Linked DNA regions of Homo sapiens: region 2 is linked to region 1. Evidence: promoter capture Hi-C in human tissues and cell types (Jung and others, 2019). All regions are on one chromosome and are shown on one strand. Each heading gives the region's core, a stretch centred on a gene start or on the middle of the fragment in contact. The rest is flanking DNA. Distances are from core to core; before and after follow the strand shown. Region 1 holds the start of TRIM32 (tripartite motif containing 32). Region 2 overlaps ASTN2 (astrotactin 2).

Region 1 (6,826 bases), core at 1,304-3,803:
CTCACCCTATAGTCCGTTGCACCTCATCCTGCCTGATAACCTCAGGCTCCTCTCCTTATCTAGCCCCAGGTCTTGGTCTAAGGGCAAACCAAGAACAAAGTCCAGGGCTCCTCCCTACCTAATCAGAGAGATTTACCCCCCAACTTTAGAGTTCAATCTGATAGTCAGTGATACTCACTGGCAATCCTCTTTTTCATTAGAGGGGAATGGGCTGAGAAAATAAGACTAAGCAGGCCCTAGCAAGGAAGAAGCAAGGAAAGCGGGAATATACGGAGTTACAGAGATCTGGGTATGAGCTTAACTGTGTCATTCCTAGCTATGGAAACTTAGGCAAGTCACTTCCTAAGCCTTAGTTTCCTCATGTGTAAAACTGAATACAGTAGAGCCTACTTAGAAGGACTGTCATGAAAACTGAGTAAAGAAGTAGATACAAGACTAAAAATTACTAGATTTTGAGAACTTACTATGTGCCAGATCCTAGGCATGCTAGTTTACTTCACTAAATCCTCACAACAATTCTGTGACATTGGTCTTGTTATCATAACCCCATTTTACAGATGAAGAGCCAAGGCACTGGGTGGTTAAGTAACTCATTCAAGGCCACAAAGTCAGGAAGAGATAGAGCTAGGACTTAAAGTCAGGAAGAGATAGAGCTAGGACTTGAACCCAGGGTATCTGACTCTAGGTCAGAGTGCCTCAACTTTGGCATTACTGACATTTTAGGCAGGATAATTCCTTACTGCGGGGGGGAAGGGCGTATCCCACACATTGTCAAATGTTTAACATAAAACATTATGTTTAATGTTTAATCTACCCACTTGAGGCCAGTAGTATCCCCCACCCTGTGACAACCAAAAAACATCTCCAGACATTGCCTAATGTCTCCTAGGAGACAAAGCCAGACTTGGTTAAGAACCACTGCTTTACAGTCTAGCACAGGACTAAATGCTCAATACCTAAGGGTTCCCTTTTTTTTTTCTGGTGGTTGTTGTTGTTGTTTTGTCTGTCTCCGAGCCCAAACACCTCACTCACAGAGCCACTGCCCCTTCAAGCTGTAATGGATCTTATATAGGATAAATTATTCCACTCATTCCCCTGGAGGTCTCACTTTCTATCTGCTATCGTAGCTTGGGGGTACAGGGAAAAAGGGCTTAGGCAGATGACCTTGAATAGTTCCACTTCTTCTTCCCCAAAGCCTACCACTTTCAGTGGGCCGGGGGACCGGTGGTCAGAATGGAGTTAGTGGCAATACCATACCTGCCTCATGATAACGGATCTTTGTTTAATAAATGAAGAAGATTCTGCCCTTCACAGGGATTACCACACTCCTTCAGGATTATCTGAACTGAAGATTTATCACTTTGTTCCTCAGCACCTGAACTCTGCTCATCTTCATATACTCATCCAGTTTCATACATTACTTTTAGGTCCTTGGGTCCCCTGAACTCCCTCTGTCTCCCATGCAGCGATTTAAGGAAAATCTCTTTAGCAGCCCAAGACACCAATCCACAAATCTACTCAGGGTCCTTTGATTTTATAGCCCAGTTAGGACATCTCCACCCCACGATTCAATCCTCTCCAAACCCTGTCCCCAACCCTCTTACAATTCCAAATTCCAATCTTTGGGGCTGTATATTGCAACCCTCGTCAATTCCTCACTCATATGCCCCAAATCCCTCGGACTCAGATCGTTTAATCCCTATTTCCAAATCTCTGCCACACTCAGCCCCGCACCTCAGTTCAACGCCCCAATTCCTCACCCCAGATTTCTGCTCTCCCTCAATCTGAGCCCCCATCTCCTGCATTCCATCGGGCACTGTGCTGCCCTCATACCCTGCTCCTTCCTCTTATGCACTGAATGTCATGTGCTGCCTTCACACCTCAGCCAGCTCCCTTCTTTCTGCTAACAAGATAGAGTCCCTCAAGAACTCACCCCACCCCCTCAATCTCACCCTCAGCCCACTCCGAAAACCCTTTCTCAATAGCACTTAGGATCGCCCTAGACCTTGCTCCTATCATCTCAGACCCTGTCCTTGCCAGATGCCTAGCGCCCCCAGATTTCCTCAAATCTCATCGGGGCCCCCCAGTTCCTTCATATTTCTGAAATTCTGCACCCAGGTCCCTCCAGGGCCCTGATTCCCTCCCATCTCCCACATGCTACACCCCGTTCCTCCTCAGGGCCCCGACATTACCTCATACCTCCCGAGATGCTGCAACCGCAAATCTCTTCAGAGCCCCTCGCTCCCCTCCCCCAGCTGCATCTCCTCGGATCTCCTCAGCCCCACGAATCCCTCCCGAGCCTGCCCCTCGCAGCCCCACCCCCACCCTAGTCCTGCCCCCCCCAGATCCGGTCCCCACACCCTGCCATTCGGGCGCGGCCGCTGCACGCCGGCACGTTCCCCCGCCTGGCCGCTGAGCCACGGCCCACGACTCCGGCCGCGGTCCCCAGTCCCCAACCCTCCTTCCCGCCCCCTACCTGACCGCCCGCGGCTCCGACGAGTCCACCGCCGGCAGCCCACCCGCCTGCCTCCCTCTGCGCACGCGCCGTTGAGCACCCCTTGCCGGGCGCCAATTCGCAGAGCTCCCTGTCCGTCACTGAGCCCCGCCTCCCCAGCATGCTGGGGCTTGTCGTGCAGCTGGCCCCAAGCGCGCGGGGCAAGGCGGCCCTGCAGGGGTGAGCTTTCCTCTGAGAACCCGGGGCCTTAGCGACACGTAATCCAGTTTTCCGTCTCCTTGGTGCAGATGAAGAAACCGACGCCCATGGGCGAAAGGGACCTGCTCAAGTTCACTCAGTAAGTCAGGAGATAAGCCAGAATGCGTATCTGACTCCAGTCTCAATGTCTACCCCTTCACAAAACGGTAGCCTCCAGGGTAGTCCTCAGCAAAGCGTTGGCACCTTACTGAATCTGTTTTTCCATCTGAGAAATGGGCCAACGGAAAAATCAAACTTCCATTCTGGGGAAGTCGAGAACCGGGACTCCCTAGGAAGGGCAGTGCTTTGGCCTCATGTTCTGTGCTCTGACAGAGAGCTGCACTAGAGACAAGTTTATCCATGAACACATTGCTCTGTAAAGGAATGTTTTGCCTACTCAGCTGGGAGGCCGACAGCAGAGGCAGACTTGGGGAGTACACTCTGCAGCCCCTGTCCCTGCAGACTGAAGGTACCCGGGAACCCAAACCAAGTGTAGTTTTGCTCGGGTGAAGGTGGAGGAATCTTACCAGGTGGGAGGTGATCTGGCCTGAGATTTGAGGGAATCTGGGGCACTAGGCATCTGGCAAGGACGAGGTCTGATACAGGACTGGCTGGCCACGACCTGCAGTCCCTGAAGTAGTTTGGGGCCAATCACCTACTCTCCAAGGTGACTATACTGTACAGCTTAGGAGCACAAAGGAGTTTGAAGTAGGATGGACTTGGATTTGAAATTCCCCTTAGCTATGTGACCCTGCACAATGATAAAACAATAAACAAAAACAATGACTAACATCTTTGAACACTTGCTGTCTGGCTACAGCTGAGGACTTCAGGTGCATAGCTCACTAAATCCTCATAAGGACCTAATGAGATAAGGCAGCTGATGGTTAACCTACACCTGTTGTGTAACCTAGGTGGTTACACAAGGCCACATATACCTAAGTGTTGGAGCCCAAATTTGTACCCAATTCTATCTGAGAACCCACTCTCTTAACCTTGTTTACTCTTTCTCCCCATTTTCTAAATTTCTAATTGAAGTTTGCCATGAAGATAAGCCAAGATTATGGTAGTTTGCACTTAATGATAACTATATTTGAAAAATTGTAATTAGCAGGTAGGGGATAAGGGAGAGGTAATGCCAAATGATTTCTCACTTAGACCAGTTGGGGAGACTTTGCACCCGTTTAAAATTTTTTTTTTTCCTGAAAACCACAGTTATCAGCCCAAAGTATAAATTTAGGACTGTTCATAGTCTTACATATATACATATTATATATGTGTGTATATGTATCAATACAGACATACTGATGTTTCCCTAATTACAGAGGAGTGTTAAAAATACTCCTGGGGATCTAGCTCAAGCAAGTGTCTTGAAAAAAAAAAATCTCTCTTCTCCCTTAAAACAAAAATCAGTGTTTGACTCTTCTTTAATGTTTATTACCAGTTAAATGAATTATTATACCTCTCACAAAATCTTAGAGTAGAATAAGCATTCTAGGAAATGCACTCAATTTTTATCTTATAGCTTGACATATCCTGGCACAATATTAGAATTCCTCTTACACAGAGGCATTTAAAAAATAATCTTTGTGGAGTGCTTTAAACACTCTTTATTCAGCATTTTAATGTAACAGATTTTTATTTAACACTTAAATCACCTATATCAGTGGAACCACCTGAGGAGTTTACCTTGCCCACTGCCTAGACAGAGCTGATTCATCAAGACAGGGGAATTGCAATAGTTAAAGAGTAATTCACGCAGAGTCAGCTGTGCGGGAGACTGGAGTTTTATGATTACTCAAGTCATCTCCCTGAGCATTTGGGGAACAGAGATTTTAAGGATAACTTGGTGGGTTGGGGGAAGCCAGTGAGCCAGGAGCGCTGTTGGTCAGGGATGAAATCATAGGGAGTCGAAGCTGTCTCCTTGCAGTGAGTCAGTTCCTGAGTGGGGGGGCCACAAGATCAGATGAGTGAGTTTATTGATCTGGGTGGTGCCAGCTGATCCATCAAGTGCAGGGTCTGCAAAATATCTCAAGCACTGATCTCAGAAGCATTTTAGGGAGGCTCAGCATCTTGTAACCTCCAGCTGCATGACTCCTAAACCGCAATTTCTAATCTTGTGGCTAATGTTAGTCCTACAAAGGCAATCTAGTACCCAGGCAAGGAGGTCTGCTTTGGGATAGGGTTGTTACTGTCTTTGTTTAAACTATGAACTACAGACTAAATTTCTCCCAAAGTTAGTTCAGCCTATGCCCAGGAATGAACAAGGACAGCTTGGAAGTTAGAAGCAAGATGGAGTCAGTTAAGTTAGATCTCTTTTACTGTCTCAATCATAATTTTGCAAAGGCAGTTTCAGTCCATCACTTTGGGTTTTGTAACACCTTAATCTTAAAGTGTAGGGTATGAAGATGGGAAAAGGCTGTCGATTGCTCTGGGTTCTTCTTGCTGACAGGGGACGTAGTGGGAATGGGAGTCAACCCCAAGGTGAGAAGAGTGGGACCACTTTCAAGTGTCTGAGCGACTCATGCAGGTCTGGCTGGGCTTCTAAGGCTTGCATGGCAAAAACATTAGTACTCTCATCTATAGTTTTAGTACAGTATTTAGGTGAACAGCCTACTATAAGGTAAATAATGAGTCCTAGGATGAGGAGTACAATACTCAATTTTAAAAGCAAAGATTTGAAAGCATTAGTCTGGCGACTTCCAACCCACAAATAATTTAGGATTTAGTCAAAATTGTAGAAAAAACTCAAGGACAGCTAACAACAGCTAACAATAGGTTTCCTCTTGAAGCATAATTTCTCTCTCTCCAGACCCCATTTTTATTAAAAACAAATCATGATAGAACTGATTTGTTTACAGAAATGTACTTTAGTCTTACTATACTTGGCCTGATTATTTGCATAAAGTGCAGCAAGAATAATTATTTTTCACTTAGGGTCTTTTTTGTTTAAATTAGCTTTGATGGAACTCTGTTCCATGAGGAATCTCAGATAAGAGTTTTTAAAAGCCAAGCTCAGCCATGGGTTTGTATCCTCAAATACCTATGAGTTGGGTAAATTCCTCTCTTCTCAAGGTCCCAAAATAACTTGGGGTTCCTGGGCCTGTTAGAAAGTGACATTCTTTACTTACCACAGGTCAGGAACCTTGTACAGGGACTGTATGACAGAACCTTGTACAGGGACTATAGACAAGGTCTGAGGTTAGATTCCCCAGGGGGCTTTAATTGGCTCTATACATTAATTTTGATTCTTTGAAGGAAGCATGCCATTCCAGTAAAAGCCTTGGTAAAATAATCAATTTCTCCAGTTGTGTCCTGTTACAAGACAAAAACAGATTCTTACTGCACTTATGCAATTAAGTATACTGGCATAAATTGAGAATACTTACAAATAGTTTCCATATTCAGGAGAAATCAGGTAGAGAGAAACAAATATGCTCTAAATTTTTTTCATGGAAGTATTTTTTACTCATTTGTTAAAAGTTGCAAATAACTCTAAAGAAATATGCTATCTTGACTCTGAAAATGAGAGGATTAGCAATGCTTAACACATCAGCTATCTGTGAGAAGCCTAGAAGTTTCATTTTTTCCTCTATTCCAATAAAACAATTTTTAAAGTTATCTGAGACCTGCACTCAGAGTGTGATATCTGATTATAAACTGCCTTTTGAAAAGGACAAAAGCAAGACAAAATGTCTATGGATGACAAAAGTCTATAGCTACTATTAAAGCTGCAATTGACTAGGAATCTTGGTTACTTCTGTGGCATACAACACTTTTATATAACAATTATAATTATTAATAATGTACTCTAAATCATATCAGAATTATAGAAGTTTCCCATAATTTCTGGAACACATACTAATAACATATTTATACAAATATAGTCCAAAGAAAACCAAACACTATTCACTCTTCAATTTGAAAGTTTTTCCTCGATTCTAATATCACAGTCTCCAGAGTTTTTAATCAGAAACCTGCATTTAAGAGGGCCTGTTAAATTTTATAGCTGATTATAAAACCATCCGTTAAAGAGGACCAAAGCGAGACAACAATTGTATATGGATGACAAAAACATTTTAGGGCAGCCACACTTTTTTTTTTAATTTATTTTTTATTTTTTATTTTATTTTA
Region 2 (6,826 bases), core at 1,843-4,342, 720 kb before region 1:
AGCCTGTGGTAAAGCAGATGCCAGATCCCAGATCTACTGACCCCTATGTGTTTTCCTTCCATCTTAGGGAAGGGCAGCTGGGAAACTGGGGACAGGAGGAGTTGGAATTCCAGAGTTGTAATGTAACTGGACTTTATCATCCTACATAGGATAGGCTATGAAAACCGTGACCATTTTATGTAACATGTACTATGTCCCAGGTGCCATGATGGTACATTTGTTATCTATTCTTTCTACAGTGCTGAAGGACAGATGTAGCTCATCCCATGTTATAGGGTGAGTTCTGAGGCTCAGAGGAGTGAAGGAACCTACCCAAGATCACACAGCTATTATACAGCTAAGCTCAGTCCAAATCCAGGTCTGCCTGGTTCCATAGTCTATGTTCTGTCTGCCTTGCATGCTGCATAGAACAAGAGATGCTCTCAACTTTTCATCTCTAGACTTTTTTACTTCTTATGTCATCCTCTTCTCATGACCAAGAAGCTGCAGGCGTTTCTTATATAGGAACTTCAGGTGTGACAGCCTCACAGGCCCAAGGGACTGAGCACCTTGTTCTGTGCTGCCAGGAGCTGACTTAGCAGCTCCCCAGGCCCCTTTGCTTGCTCCTTGCTGCTTTGCCAAGACAGCATCTAGGCCTTGTCTCATACTCTCCAGATGCCTCTTGTTACTCCTGGACCCACTTGACAAGCAAACTCCTATGTTTCTGTGCCTTCTTGGTTTCCTCTCTCCTTCCCTCCCTCTATTCTTTCCACCTTCCCTCCTTTCTTCCCCATCCCCTTTCCTTCTTTTTTTTCCCCCTTTTCTTCCTTCCTCCCAACTCTTAGAGAGTTGTCACCTCATGCTCTGCCAAGTGTTTACTAGGGGATCAGTGATCTTGTCCTCTGAGAAATTTGTATAAGCTCTATGTCCTTTTTTGGGAAATGATCAGGGTGTCTGGAGTCTGAGATGTAGCCGCTATCTGGCTAGGTGAACTTGCTTCTCACTCCTGCTCAACCTTGTCAAATTTTTCCACTCAGTACTCCTTAGCATCATTGTGCAGTTTTCGTGTTTCCTCCTTGAATGTGGGATCTATATTATACATACATACACACACATACGTAATATATTATAATGCTATATAAATCCAAATATATAGTGTATCCTTCTAGATTATTAGAATGAGGTAAAATGATGCCTTTGAGATCCAACCCAACTCCTTCATCTATGTAGCGAAGACAAATACATTTTCCAAGGTCCTGCAGCTAATCCACAGCACAACCAAGTCTCTAGCTCAGGTCCTCTGATGGTGGCAGTGTGCTAGAGTGAGACTTTTGCTAGGTCTGAGGACCAAAAGCCCTGGGATCAAATCCCAGATGTGCTAATTCCTAGCTTTAGATTTATGTATGCCACTTCTCTGAGCCTCTGCTTACCCATCAATAACATGAAGAAAACATAATAGTCACTTAATTTTGGAGAGCCCTCCATAACCACATTTTAGTCAGCACTGGGCACTGTGCTAACTTTTTACTTACACTAAGCTGTGTGATCCTTATGGAGATAGTGTGTGCAAAGCACCTAGCGCAGCATCTGGCACACAGCTTGGGCTCTGTGCCTCTTCGCCACCTGGAATCCTTTTTTTGGAAGGAGGTGGAGGTATGAATCAATAATGAATGTAAATTTCCTTTCCCCTCCCCCTCTTTCCACTCCCTCATGCTCCTCTTATGCCTCCTCTCTCCACCTCCCCTCCTCCCCAGCAAGGCAAAAAAGGATGAAATTGACCATTGATGTCTGCTCATTCTCTTGGAGCTGGGGGAAGCTGGGGGAAGCAGGGAATTCCGGGGTTGTTTGAGGACAGTTGGGACAGAAGAGCTCTTAGAGACTGAGTCTAAGGCAGGTGGGTGTTGTGGGAGCAGGCGGGGCAGAATCCTCTCCCTTCTGGTGGTGGCTGGCTGACAAAGCCTTGCTCTCATGCACCCAGGGAAGTCACGAGTGGCTTTGCAAGCAGCCGAAAAGGGAAGGAACATTTCCATTAGCAGAATCAGCAGTAAAGAGATTTCCAGTCACAGTAATAGCTGCATTTGGGGGAATCATTTCAGTGGTGGCTGAGGGCGGAGGAGGGAAGGGGGTGGGGCATCGGGGGAAGGCACAGGAAGACGTCTGGTCTACTTGCACAGAGCTGGGAGATAGCACCAAATTAGAGCCAGGTGCCAGACAGGGTGACTATTCAGGAGCAGGACTGGTCCTTTGACAAACATTCTGGATTCCCTATTGTCCTCCAAATGGACAGAGCTCCATTCTAGAGGGTCCCCATGGGAGGCTGCACACTTATTCAATGCTTCCTTTCCTCTGATTATCTGAATTACTCTTTTCAAGACTTTTACAGCCAGCAGCAACTTGTTTGGCTCCCAGGATTTGTAGGTGGAAGAGTTCCCAGATTATTTAACCCAGGCTTTCCTCAAGTTAGCTGATCATCAGAATCACGGTAGACCTCAGGCTCTCAAGGCCAGACCTGCTGAGGCTCCTGGGGAGAGGCCTGGGAATCTGAACTTCAGCAAGTGTATTGACACCCTGGCCTTTACCTAGAAAACCTCTGTGAAGTGAAGCCCTGTTAGAAGCTCTTCAGCCTCATCCTCCAATGTTCCTTTCCTCCCTCGAGGCTCTAGCCTCATTAATTACTTGCAAATGTCTGAGGGTAACATGCTTATTCTCTTCTCTCTGTTTAGATTGTTTTTGTATTCCTCGTTCACCTGGCCAGCTCCTAGACTTAGCTCTAGCATCTGCTCTAAGGGGTGTCATCTCTAAGGAGCCTTCTCTTTCTCCTCTTGGGCTTAGGTTTTCTTTTCCTGGAGACCTATATACCCTCCATCACACCACCACCACCACCCCACCCCACTCCATGTAGGGTTGCTCTGTTTAGCAAATAAAAATACATGATGCCAACTTAAATTTAAATTTCAGATAAATAATGAATACTTGTTTAGTATAAGTATGTTCCATGCAGTATTTTGGACATACTTATACTAAAAATGTCTCGCTGACTATCTGAAATTCAAAGTGAACTGAGCGTCCTTTATTTTATTCAGAAGCCCGTAGGAAACCTGTGTTTCTCTCCTTCTTGTCTGGGATCACACTATTGATGTGTGATTTGCCCCCTAAACCTGCTCTACCCACATCTTCCCATCTCAGGAAATCAAACTATTAGCCTAGTTTTTCAAGCTAAGCAGTCATTCTTCATCGTTTTCCTTGCCTCTCATCCTTTCAGTCAGCTAACCCTGATGGTTTTGCTTCTTAAATGATTTTCAGGCAGGGTGCAGTGGCTCACGCCTGTAATCCCAGCTCTTTGGAGGCGGAGGCAGGCAGATCACTTTAGGTCAGGAGTTTGAGACCAGCCTGGCCAACATGGTGAAACCCCATCTCTACTAAAAACACAAAAATTATCCAGGTGTGGTGGCAGGTGCCTGTAATCCCAGCTACAGAGGAGGCCGGGGCAGGAGAATCTCTTGAACCTGGGAGGTGGAGATTGCAGTGAGCTGAAATCGTGCCACTGCACTCCAGCCTGGGTGACAGAACAAGACTCTGTCTCAAAAAAACAACAACAGGAAAAGATTTTCAGAATTAACTTTTCATAGTTTCCACTGGCATCACCTTCATCCAAGCTGCCATCCTTTCCCATATCAGCCTCCTAACCGGTCTTCCTGCTGCCTCTCCCTTCTCTGTCCTTTCTTTATGCCATACTATATATAGCCCATGGGCCAAATCTAAACAATTGCTTGTTTGTTTGTTTGTTTGTTCAGCTCATAAGACTATTAACTTTTTAAAAATAGTTGACAAAAAGTCAAGAGAAGAATAATATTTGTTGACATGTGACAATCATATGAAATTCAGATGTCAGTACCTATAAATAAAAATGTACTGGAACACAGCCACACTCCTTTGTTTATGTGTTGCCTGTGGCTGCTTATGGTCTATAATGACAAAGTCAAGCAGTGGCAATAGAGAGTGTCTAGCCTGCAAAGCTTAAAATATTTATTAACTGGCCCTTTACAGAAAACGTTTGCCAACCTCTGCTCTACACAGTAGCCAGAGTGATGTCTTCCAAAAAATAAATTATATTTTGCCACTCCCCTGTTTACGACCTGCAATTGTTTCTCATTGTTTTTAGGATAAAATCCTCATTCTTTTTCAGTGTCTGCAAAATCCTAAATAATTTGCCTTTTTCTCTGAGTTGCCTTCTACCATTTCCTCCCTTGCTCACAAAACTCAAATATTACCTCCTCCAAGTAGTCTTCCCGGACCAAAGTAGCACCCTTATACACCACACTCTCAGCTATCTCAATTATTTTTAAAAGCCTTTACCTGACAGGTATTTGGAGGCAGGGAGTGTGTCTTGTTCATCATTTTGCTCCCTCAGCTACGTAGCTGAGGAACATCACATAGTAGGTTCTGAGTAGATATTTCCTGACAAAATGGGCAGAAATCAGGGTGATAGTTTGTGAACACCACTTCTGATGGATCACTACCTCATCAGGTTGTTCTGTTTTTTATTAGGAGGAGGATTCCAGGAGCTAAAGTTTATAAAGTATGTTCAGCAGTACCCGGCACTTAGTACATGCTACCTATGTGCTCGTTAAATAAACAAAAGTAAATAAGCCTGTACCTTAATCCCTAATACCAGCCCCCTCCCTACCTCTTTTGCAGCTGGAGAGAGCTTAGGATCACTCGAAGCAAGTCATGTGGTTAAAGATCTCATGGAACCCAGAGGCAGTGTAATATGGTGGAGAGGACTAGAACTAGGAATCGTGGGTTTTGGTCCCAGTTCTGCTGGGTGTCTGTGGTCAAGTCTCTTCCTCTTTTCAGGCTTTCCCTCATCTCTAATGTGATGAGATTAAACTAAGTGATCCTAGGAGCCCAGGAGGGAGAGAAGGGTTCCCTCTGGGAACTTCTGAGGCTGGAGTTACAGTTAAAGCTTTCTCCTTTCCTTCTCTATCCTTTCTGGGGCCTCTGAAGATCAAACACTCAGCTCTGAACCCAGGTGCGACTAGAGTTTTCAAGCCCAGTCTTGCACTAATTTATCAGGGAATCTTCTTCAATTACTTTCTCTCTAGCCTTCCCCAGGGAGGGGGACTGCCCAAAGTAACCAATTACTGGTCTGCCAATGGCAGGGTTCCTACTGTCCCTCCCTCCCCTCTTTTCTCTCTCTCTTTTATTGTCCTGACCTCTTTAATCCATCTCTCCAAACCACAGAAGCCTCTAGGGAATCGCCCCCACTCACTTGCCTCCCTGCTTCCAGGAGGGAACAGACGTTCTGTCCTCCCCACAAAAGGACAGCAGGTGGAAAGACTGATGGCTGAGAAAGGGCAGCTACAGAGCTAGGAAAACCAAACAGGTTTTTCAAGTCTGGTAAGTACACAACTGTGTTGAATTTGGAGGTAGTGCCTGGAGTCTAGTCCTGTTTCTGCCATTGATTTGTTGTGTGACCTTAAATAAATGGCAGTCCTTTTTTGACCTCAGGGAAGATTAATATTGTAAGAGCCAAGTCTCTTTCAGGAAAGCAGGGGAAGATTGGGCTGCATAGGCTACTCCAAGAGAGAGGAGAAATCATCCAGTCTGGTTTGCTGCAGAATCCCATGTGCCTACAGATGTGTCCATCATATAGTAGATACTCAATAAATATTTGTTGAATGAATAAATGAATAATCAGTGGAAATTATGTTTGGCCATACTGCCACTGTCCACTTCTGTATTCATGACAGACATTGCTAATCAATCATTTAATGATAGCCTGAGATTCTTTCTCAATGCAATGCCTCATCAATCACTTCCAGTCAATTGGGATTAGCATAGGGGATGAATTTTATTCCCATTTCCTAATCTAAACCAATTCAACCCGAAAACCTTGGCATCTCTGCCTGGTGTTAAGACCTTTTAGTAATTCTTCAGTGGTCCTTCCATCCCAGACCCTGTGCTGGATCTCTAGTGGTATAGAAAAGCAGGGTGCTCATAGACCCTTATTGCATAAGGTCAGTAGTAATGGGATTAGCTGTATTTATTTTAAAAAGGAAACTTTGTATCACTGTCATGAATGAAACACCAAAATAACTTTCAGTAAATGGAAGATAGCCTGCAAAAGTAAGTATGTCTCTATCGAAGTTAAAACACTCATGTGCCGTCTAAATTCATCTCTGGTTCAATACTTGGAAAATGTTGATCGACCCAAGCACAGAGACGAAGATAGTCCTCTAAAATTCAAATTTTGCTCACTTAAATGTCAGATTATCTTTAATATTATATATTTTAAAAATATCTTTTCTGCCTCATAACTACCATCTTTTAAGATCCAGCGTGAATATTCCCTCACTCCTTCTAAGATGACTTTCCTGGCTCCCCCCAAAACAGTTATTTCCCAAGCATTTCGTATATTCAGTGCAGTCAGTATTTTCATAGAAATATTGTTGATTGCATGTCGGCCTTTCTTGTTAGTATGTAAGCTTTCTAAGTTAAACATCATTTCTCTTTAATATCTGTAACTCCAGCAGAGAGTACACGTGTGTTTATTGTATTTCCAACCTCAATTTTACATTTTGGGTCAGGCGCGGTGGCTCACGCCTGTAATCCCAGCACTTTGGGAGGCCGAGGTGGGCAGATCACAAGGTGTTCAGGAGATCAAGACCATCCTGGCCAATGTGGTGAAACCCCATCTCTACTAAAAATACAAAAAATTAGCTGGATGTGGCAGCGCATGTCTGTAGTCCCAGCTACTCGGGAGGCTGAGGTAGGAGAATTGCTTGAACCCGGGAGGCGGAGGCTGCAGTGAGCCAAGATCGTGCCACTGCATTCCAGCTTGGGT

The links. The method cuts DNA at HindIII sites, captures the fragments that hold promoters and counts their contacts. A contact is called where the count stands out against the background at its distance.
Region 2: a fragment that was not itself captured here is called in contact with the fragment with the promoter of TRIM32 in region 1 in 1 of the 25 tissues and cell types used here (dorsolateral prefrontal cortex).

The regions. Positions count from the first base shown.
Region 1 is chr9:116,683,032-116,689,857 of GRCh38, reverse strand. It overlaps TRIM32 (tripartite motif containing 32), which reads right to left and starts at 2,553. Exons shown (of 2, transcript NM_012210.4): 1 at 2,477-2,553. The region is part of intron 16 of ASTN2 (astrotactin 2); the gene reads left to right. RefSeq lists enhancers at 2,077-2,126, 2,567-2,886 and a silencer at 2,297-2,496. The HindIII fragment of the contact is 20,788 bases long and covers 1-6,826 here.
Region 2 is chr9:117,398,821-117,405,646 of GRCh38, reverse strand. All of the region lies in intron 1 of ASTN2 (astrotactin 2), which reads left to right. Among named protein-coding and RNA genes, the nearest start is that of ASTN2, 13 kb to the left of the region's middle. The HindIII fragment of the contact is 5,229 bases long and covers 478-5,706 here.